2 separate regions of the Homo sapiens genome follow, and region 1 is linked to region 2. The links are contacts of gene promoters, found by promoter capture Hi-C in human tissues and cell types (Jung and others, 2019). All regions are on one chromosome and are shown on one strand. The core of a region is centred on a gene start or on the middle of the fragment in contact, and the rest is flanking DNA. Distances in the headings are between cores, read along the strand shown. Region 1 overlaps ATP6V1E1 (ATPase H+ transporting V1 subunit E1). Region 2 holds the start of USP18 (ubiquitin specific peptidase 18).

The links. The method cuts DNA at HindIII sites, captures the fragments that hold promoters and counts their contacts. A contact is called where the count stands out against the background at its distance.
Region 1: a fragment that was not itself captured here is called in contact with the fragment with the promoter of USP18 in region 2 in 1 of the 25 tissues and cell types used here (lymphoblastoid cells).

What each region holds. Positions count from the first base shown.
Region 1 is chr22:17,592,189-17,596,684 of GRCh38, reverse strand. ATP6V1E1 (ATPase H+ transporting V1 subunit E1) reads left to right here. Exons shown (of 9, transcript NM_001696.4): 8 at 2,069-2,156; 9 at 3,949-4,496. The coding sequence ends at 4,011. Among named protein-coding and RNA genes, the nearest start is that of SLC25A18, 31 kb to the right of the region's middle. The HindIII fragment of the contact is 3,516 bases long and covers 610-4,125 here.
Region 2 is chr22:18,148,333-18,153,038 of GRCh38, reverse strand. It overlaps USP18 (ubiquitin specific peptidase 18), which reads right to left and starts at 2,869. Exons shown (of 11, transcript NM_017414.4): 1 at 2,817-2,869. LOC124905076 (a long non-coding RNA gene) reads left to right here and starts at 3,825. Exons shown (of 2, transcript XR_007067999.1): 1 at 3,825-3,939. RefSeq lists enhancers at 200-449, 2,809-3,128. The HindIII fragment of the contact is 12,042 bases long and covers 1,596-4,706 here.

The sequences.
Region 1 (4,496 bases), core at 1,118-3,617, 560 kb after region 2:
GGTAATCTTGGACTCGTTTATTCAGTTTCATTGAGTGGTGTCGTCCATTTAGTGTTGCTATAACAGAATACCCGAGGCTGGGTAATTCATGGAGAAAAGAGGTTTATTTGGTTCATGATTCTCATGGCTGGAAAGTTCAAGATTGGACAGCTGCATCTGGTGAGGGCCTCAGGCTGCTTCCACTCATGGCAGAAGGTGGAAGGGGAGTGGGTGTGTGCATAGAGACCACATGGCGAGAGAGGAGGCCAGAGAGCCTAGGGAACCAGACTCCCTATCATACCAGCCCACCCTCTGCTCACAGTCGAGTCCTGCCGGAGCTAGAATCCAGGCCCTCGCCACAGTTCATTGCCTCGGGATCTGCCCTTGAGCCCTGAACACCTCCTACTATGCTCCACCTCCCAACACTGCCACATTGAGAATCAAATTTCACCATTAGTTTCTGAGGGAACAGACTCAAACCATAGTAGTGAGCCCTGATTCCCTTATCTGTAAATTGACGTATTAGCACTAACCTCATAGCATTTTTTATCTTATTTATTTATTTATTTATTTTTTGAGACAGAGTCTCACTCTCACCCAGGCTGGAGTGCAGTGGCACGACCTCGGCTCACTGCAAGCTCCACCTCCCAGGTTCACACCATTCTCCTGCCTTAGCCTCCCGATTAGCTGGGACTACAGGCACCCGCCACCATGCCTCGCTAATTTTTTTTGTATTTTTAGTAGAGACGGGGTTTCACCTTGTTAGCCAGGATTGTCTCAATCTCCTGATGTCGTGATCTGCCCACCTCGGCCTCTCAAAGAGCTGGGATTACAGGCGTGAGCCACCGCACCCAGCCTCTTTTTTTGTTGTTGTTGTTGTATTTTGAGTAAGGGTCTCTTTCTGTCACCCAAGCTGGAGTGCAGTGGTGTGATCTCGGCTTGCTGCAACCTCTGCCTCCTGGGTTCAAGCAATTCTCCTGCCTCAGTCTCTCAAGTAGCTGGGACTACAGGCACGCCCCACCATGCCCAGCTAATTTTTGTATTTTTAGTGGAGACAGGCTTTCGCCATGTTGGCCAGGCTGGCCTCAAACTTGAGTTTGGGAGCACCTCGGCCTCCCAAAGTGCTGGGATTACAGGGGTGAGCTACCACGCCCGGCCAGCAGTGGCATCTTTTATCAGACACACATGCAGTCGTGATAGGGCCTCATCAGTAATGAGCAGGATTGGGCTTAAGAAAACATTCAGATGAGGATTGAGTGATTTGCAAACTGAGATGAAATCCTCTCTTTTTCATTTTGTTGGGGAGGGCTGGCTGTGATAATTAAAACAGGTTTTGTAACATAAAATCAAATTGACACAGGCTGGGCGCGGTGACTCACTCCTGTAATCCCAACACTTGTGGAGGCAGAGGTGGGCGGATCACCTGAGGTCAGGAGTTCAAGACCAGCCTGGCCAACATGGTGAAACCCCGTCTCTACAACAATACAAAAATTAGCCAGGCGTGATGGCAGGTGCCTGTAATCCCAGCTACTGGGGAGGCTGACGCAGGAGAATTGCTTGAACTCGGGAGGCAGAGGTTGCAGTGAGCCAAGATCGCACCATTGCACTCCTGCCTGGGCAACAGAGCGAGTCTCAAAAAAAACAAAACAAATTGACACATAGTGTCACTTGGTAAATGACAGTTATTGAGATGAATACAGTCAGTTCTCTGTATCTTTGGGGTCCACACCTGTGAATTCAACCAACTTTTTCTTTTCACTCCCTAAACACTACGGTATAACAACCATTTACATCGTATTAGCTATTTTAAGTGCTGTAGACATGATTTGCAATATAGGGGAGGATGTGTGATGGTTGTATGCAAATACTACGCTGTTTCATATAATGGACATCTAGGCGGGGACTGGGGTTTCCTGAAACCAACTGTGCGTTACATCTTCAGAAGCTTTTTCAGTTCCTTTCAAGCCTGTTGCTTAGGTTGCGCAGTCTACACACCAAGACAAGGGCATTCCTCTGCGGGAGTAAAGGGTACCATGTATCTTTCTCAAGTCTTTGAAAATGATTATTTCCTGTGCTTTTTTTTTTGCAGAGCTGGTGGAGTTGAGATCTATAATGGAGATCGTAAAATAAAGGTTTCCAACACCCTGGAAAGCCGGCTGGATCTCATAGCCCAGCAGGTGAGTGTGGGGGTACTTCTTGGTAGTTGGTCTGCTGTTACTTTGAAGTGGGACAGAGAACACGTGTCCATTCACTGGTATTTGGGATTTGTTGCTGTCTTTCCAGTTTTGGACATTTTCTCAAAAAGAATGAGAATTGGGCATGTAGTAGCATTTGCTGAGGTGGTAACATTTACATGAGGGTGAATTTGGGGTCAGAACAAGTGTTTTGTTGACCTAGGATTCGAATATGTACATTTTACTACATGTAAGGTGCTGACAAGTTCTTTCTCTAACAGGAGTGATGGGAACTAAAGCAAATACTTGTGTTTTTTTGTTTTGTTTTGCTTTTTTGAGATGGAGTTTCACTCTTTTTTGCGCAGGCTGGAGTGCAGTCTTGGCTCACTGCAACTTCCACCTCCCAGGTTCAAGCGATTCTCCTGCTTCAGCCTCCCGAGTAGCTGGGATTACAGGCACCTGCCACCACACCCGGCTAATTTTGTATTTTTAGTAGAGACGGGGTTTCACCATGTTGGCCAGGCTGTTATCAAATTCCTGACCTCAGGTGATCCACCCGCCTTGGCCTCCCAAAGTGCTGGGATTACAGGTGTGAGCCACCGTGCTCAGACACAAATACTTATTTAAAGGAATTATCATAAAGCTGCTGGCTTTTCAGATGTTTCCAGATTTGTACACAGGAACTCTAGGAAACAAGCCAGGAAAATTCCATTTGTTCTAAAATGCTGGGCATCTTCTAGACTTCTAGTGGGAGTCTATTGCTGTGGCTGCCAACCTAGTTATTCCCTGACCTAGATATGCAGTTTACTGTTTATGCAGATACTTGTCTTATAACTAAAGCACTTTCACCTTGATTTTTTCATATTCTGGTAACTTAAACCTCAGAACATTGTTTCCTAGTAGCCACTGTCCCATCCAGTATCATAGCCACTACTCACTTACGGATATTTAATTAAACCGAAAAATTCAGTTTCTCAGCACACAATAACCATCTGTAGCTAGGACTGCCCTGTTGGACAGCCGAGCCTTGGAAGTCCAGGGTTAAGTTCTCCTAAGGATTCATCAGTGGCTGTAGCAAGTGCTTCCAGCCTAAGCTGGCATTGGAAGTGTTCTTTGCAGCTGCTGTGGCCATAGTAGGCACTCAGTAAATGTTTGTTGAAGAAAGAGTGTAGGTGACCCAGCATATTGTGGTGAGATGATTATGATGAGTTAAGTCTGAGATAGTAGTGACTTTAGGTTTTTTTTTGTTTTGTTTTTTTTTAATGTGTCCCTTTTGTAAGCAGTCTGAACCCCAGATTTGGGATGAGTTAAGTTTCTCACCAAGGAATGTGTTACTTGCTTCAGGGAAGGAGAGGGTGGCTTTGATGTGCGTGGCTTTGTGAGTCCTTCCCAGCCACATAGAGGTTCATGGCTTTCCACCTGTGGTTAAGATGTGCAGCACTCTGGCCAGGCTTGGTGGCTCACGCCTGTAATCCCAGCACTGTGGGAGGCCGAGGCGGGTGGATCACGAGGTCAGGAGATCGAGACCATCCCGGCTAACATGGTGAAACCCCGTCTCTACTAAAAATACAAAAAAATTAGCCAGGCATGGTGGCAAGCACCTGTAGTCCCATCTACTTGGGAGGCTGAGGCAGGAGAATGGCGTGAGCTTGCAATGAGCGGAGATGCGCCACTGCACTCCAGCCTGGGCGACAGAGCGAGACTCCGTCTCAAAAAAAAAAAAAAAAAAAAGATGTGCAGCGCTCTACAACTTCTTCAGCTGACATTGCGTATTTATTACACTTTCTCTCCACAGATGATGCCAGAAGTCCGGGGAGCCTTGTTTGGTGCAAATGCCAACAGGAAGTTTTTGGACTAAGCCTTCAGGAGGTGGAGCTCGTCGTCAGCTCTCCTGCTGTGATGTGGAAGCTTCTGATATTTGAAGAAACACGAATGTCTCTGTAGCTTCCTCTTCACTGCCCCAGTATTGCTCTGTATTTATCAGCGATGCCCCTCTGTCACTCATGCCTTGCCTAATTGTTCACAATGGTGGAAAGCTTCATGTAATATGATCAGGACCCACCTCCAGTTCTTCTGAAAGTGTGACAGTGTCCAGCCGGTTCTGCAGCACTAGGGGAGGGGGCAGATGGTGGTTGCATGGGCTTCCTGGGTCTCCACTCTCCGTCTGGCCTAAAGGTGATGTATTTGGTGTTTGGCCCTGCAGTCCCCACTCTTGAGGCTTAAGGCGCATGTGGCACACCACTCCTTCCAGCAGTAGTCGCTTTACTGTTACCTGTTTAGGCCTAGAAGTTTTCCCTCATCTGTAAATGTGATTTAAAATCTAAGCCATGAATATGCTTTATT
Region 2 (4,706 bases), core at 1,620-4,119:
CCAGCCTAGGAGGACTCAACTGAAATGATGACAGCAGACAATTCCATCAGCAAGAAAGAGGATTTTGAGCTCATCATTGAGGGAAAGCTGATGAAAGAGAGCAGAGAGGTTCCAGGCTGCATTTTCCAAGATGTTGTCCTCTTCTCCGCCAAGACCTCCCAGATACTTCAGTAGGATATAGCAGTAAAACCTCATGGAGCAGATCATTTGAGCAGGCTCGGTCCCAAAGGGAAACAAAATACAGCAGCCTTTCAGGGTAGATCACACTGGGGAGACAGGGAGGCGGGGCAGCAAGGAAAGGAAAGTGAAGCTTAAAAGGTCTAAGGAGGATGGGGAGGGCAAGGCGAGCAGAGAGACCGCAGCTGAAGTTAGCAGGGGCAATAAGCATCCACCAGAGAAAACAGCCTGGGCGGATTCCAAGGAAGGGGATTTTCAAACTCAACTGCTGACTCAAAAAAAGACCCCCAGGCCAGGCGCGGGGTCTTTGTTTGAGACTCTGTCTCAAACAAAACAAAACAAAAATCCCAAATACTAAACTAACTTAGCTCCCACCCTACCTGAATTTTTTTTTTTTTTTTTGGTTCACGTTCTCTCATGATCTTCCCGAAATGTTATCCTTAAGCTTCGGGGAGAGGTGAGCAACGGAAGGAACTGGCCCAGGCCCACCACTAAAGAAGCCCCAGGACCAATCGGGGTCCTCAGAGAAGCCCCAGAAGAGCCAGGAACAAGCTGCAGAAAACCTGGGGAGGGTGGGGCCTCCACCCAATACTCCACTCACAACTGGACTCTCTGCCAGGAAAGCCAACTCCAACATTTAGATGCCCTAAAAGGAACAAAATTAACCTGCCAGGAACATGATTCAAGCAGCCTCGGTGTCTTCCGACCCACCCCATCATGGCAACCACAATTGTAGACCGCAGTCTCGATGACGTGTTCACATTATTTTGCATTTCTTTTTTCTTTTTTTATTTTTATTTTTATTTTTGAGACGGAGTCTCCCTCTGTCGCCCAGGCTGGAGTGCAGTGGCCGGATCTTGGCTCACTGCAAGCTCCGCCTCCCAGGTTCACGCCATTCTCCTGCCTCAGCCTCCCGAGTAGTTGGGACTACAGGCGCCTGCCGCCACGCCCAGCTAATATTTTTTATTTTTAGTAGATGGGTTTGCACCGTGTTAGCTAGGATGGTCTTGATCTCCTGACCTCGTGATCCACCTGCCTCGGCCTCCCAAATTGCTGGGATTACAGGCGTGAGCCACCGCGCCCGGCCTATTTTGCATTTCTTGAGTAATCGTAATATGCGGGTTAGAACACACGGATTACAACACTTTGGATGAAAAACCACATAATAGGGAAATTTTGGGACTACTCTCTCTCAAAAAAAAAAACAGCTCGTGGAAAAACTAGGACTTACCTTCTTTGAAACTATGTTTATGTTAAGCATTTTCCCCTTTGTAAGCTCATCATTGTGTAAAAGTGTCAGAACTGTGCAACACATTTTTTAACAGTCCAAAAGCAAGTTCTTTGATAAATCAATATGAAGCCGTGCACCTGTGTTACTCTCCCTCCCGTTTTGTTCCTGCGAACACATCGGTAACCTGCATTCACTCTCCATCCAACTCTGTTCAATACCAGAAAGAAACTTCAGATGAAATGCTTTTCAGTATTTGCCTTGTTTTCTGGAACAACTTTAAAGTACAAATTATACCTAAATAAGTACAAATTAAAGCCTCTGCTTTAATTTTCAAACACTTTGAACCCAGATTTTCAGGGGTCTCAAAATGGAGTTTTGTGTTTAAAAGTCTAAATTTAGCTTTCTTCCAAGGAAAAGGGTGTGAAGAAGAGAGGTTAAGACTAAAATACTCTGATTTGCAGAGTTTGACAACATCCTTCCAATTTCTCAATATGAATGCCCACTGACCCAGCCATTCCACTTCTAGGAATTTTCCACCGATATATTTGTATGAATGTATACATAAAATTATATTCATTGCCGTATCTGTGCCAGTAAAAACTGGAAACAACCTAAATCTCCATGCATTGTTTAAACAATGTACTTCCCATACCATGTATCAGGTTTTTTTGTTTGTTTGTTTGAGACAGTTTCGCTCTGTCGCCCAGGCTGGAGTGCAACGGTGCGATCTCGGCTCACCGCAACCTCCGCTCCCGGGTTCAAGCGATTCTCCTGCCTCAGCCTCCCGAGTAGCTGGGATTACAGGCATGCGCCACCACGCCAGGCTAATTTTGTATTTTTAGTAGAGACGGGGTTTCTCCATGTCTGTAACTCCTGACCTCAGGTGATCCTCCCTCCTCGATCTCCCAAAGTGCTGGGATTACAGGCGTGAGCCACCGTACCCGGCCGAATCAGTTTTTTGTTTTATTTTTAATGCCATTAACACATCTATATGTCCTGCCATGAAAAGATGTCCATAATATACTCAGTGGACAAAGCAAGTTCGAAATGATTTTAAAGACTTGTACATAGAAACATTTCTGATAAGGTACAAACAAAAATGATACTGAGTGGAAGACTGCGAGACACATTTGTCTGCATTGTTTGAATTTTTTTACAAGCTTACAACACTTCTGCAATTTCTTTTTTTGTTTTAATTAAACACAAAGTCATGTCAAAAGTCCAAATAACTATATTAGCTTAGAAAAAAATTCACTGGCCCAAAATATATGCACGTAGTAAATACAGATCACTATCATAATTTGCAGAGCACAATTATTACTTAATTCCTTAATTATCTGACTGGCATAGGAGCAGAGTTGGATGTCTGTGCTAGAAAGAAAACTTCCAAAATGAGCCCCGAACTTGCCTCAAGCGCCATGCAAGCGTCCAGCCTCCGCTGCTGAGTTCCACGTCGGGACTGAGCCGGGGACCGAGCTGGGACCGAAGTTCCGCTCCGGGCCCGCCTTGGTCTGGCCCCGCGCTCGTGGCACCCCGCCCAGCTTTCGTTTTCCACTGAATGGAAAGCGAAACTTACAGCGGCCTCCGCGCCGGGAGCTGGGCGCCAGCGTGCGGGGAAACCCTGCCGGCCCGAGCTTCCCGCGGCTGCCGTTGCAGCCGCGCACCTGCTCCAGACTTCCAGCCCTCGCTTTTTTTTTTTTTTTTTTTTTTTGAGACGGAGTCTCATTCTGTCGTCCAGGCTGGAGTGCGGTTGCGCTGTCTCGGTTCACTGCAAACTCCGCCTCCTGGGTTCAAGCGATTCTCCTGCCTCAGGCTCCGGAGTAGCTGGGATTACAGGCATGCGCCACCACTCCTGGCTAATTTTTGTATTTTAGTAGCGATGGGGTTCCGCCATGCTGGCCAGGCTGGTCTCAGGTGATCCGCCCGCCTCCTAAAGTGCTGGGATTACAGGTGTGGGCCACCGCGCCCGACCTACAGGCGCCTTTTTATTTGCGATTTTAAGGTCCTTGCAATTAGCCTACGTGTTAGAGTCATTTGGCGTTTGGTAGTATCCATGGCAGCATTTTTTCTTTCTTAATGCTATTGTATTTCTTGGATCGGGTGTCTTCACATCACCGGCCTGTGGCTTGGATGCGGCACATGGTGTAATTAGGAGCTCCCCTGTGGGCATGCAGATACAGATATTTCTCCACTTAAGAAGGGGTCAGGGGGCGCGGTGGCTCACACCTGTAATCCCAGCACTTTGGGATGCTGAGGCAGGCGGATCACCTGAGGTCAGGAGTTCGAGACCAGCCTGACCAACATAGTGAAACCCCATCTCTACTAAAAGTACAAAAATTAGCTCGGCGTGGTGGCGCTTAATCCCAGCTACTTAAGAGGCTGAGGCAGGAGAATAACTTGAACCCAAGAAGCGGAGGTTGCAGTGAGCAGAGATCGACAAGAGCAAGACTCCGTCTAAAAAAAAAAAAAAAAAATGGGGTCAAGTCCCAGTGAACCCATCATGAAGTCGAAACATCGTAAGTGAAACCACGGTAAGTGATGGACCATCTGTGTATATATAAGGTTAAGAGATCTGTAACATGCACACCGGAAAGGCTTATTACCTCTTTAGAGATGTATTTCTTGTATGTAGACTCATGGGGGTAGGGGCAGAAGGGTTATCTGCTAGGGGCCTCAAACTCCAGCCGCTGGAATTTGCGCAGGAAAGCAGGGTACAATTCCCCCAAAGCGATCATTCTTTCTGAAAGCCGTCCCCGCAGCAACAGACAAATAGCCTCCAAAAACCCAAAGCTGCCAGAACCTCACTGAAGCGTTGGTAGGGTCTGCAGTAAGGTACAAAATACCATGGCATGAAGATGTATAAACGTGTCCATAATAGGGTGGATGTGTGTTAGAAGCATGAGCACAGATATACACATACAGGCTATCCACACGTCCATCGTCAGCCCAGACTCCGCTTACATTGCTGCTGGAACGGAGGCAGTGTCGCCCACAGTGCAGCATGTTCTCCCTGGAAGGCTGGTGGACTTTGCGCAGTATGGTGTTTACACAGGTACACGGTGGTGGGCGCAGGGTCCGTCCTCATTATATTTGCTGACCAATCAGTTATATAACCAGCTTCATACATCTGGTAAGTCTTGTCCACAAACAGGAACCTCAAAAACTCAAGTGAGGGCAATGAGGAGAGGAGGTTGCAAAATTTGATAAAATATGCTAAATACAGCAAGTCAGTAGAAGGCTAAGGAGCAAGCTGCAGTTGCTTGCAGCAACTATCAGCAGAAAACTATTAATAGTCAAT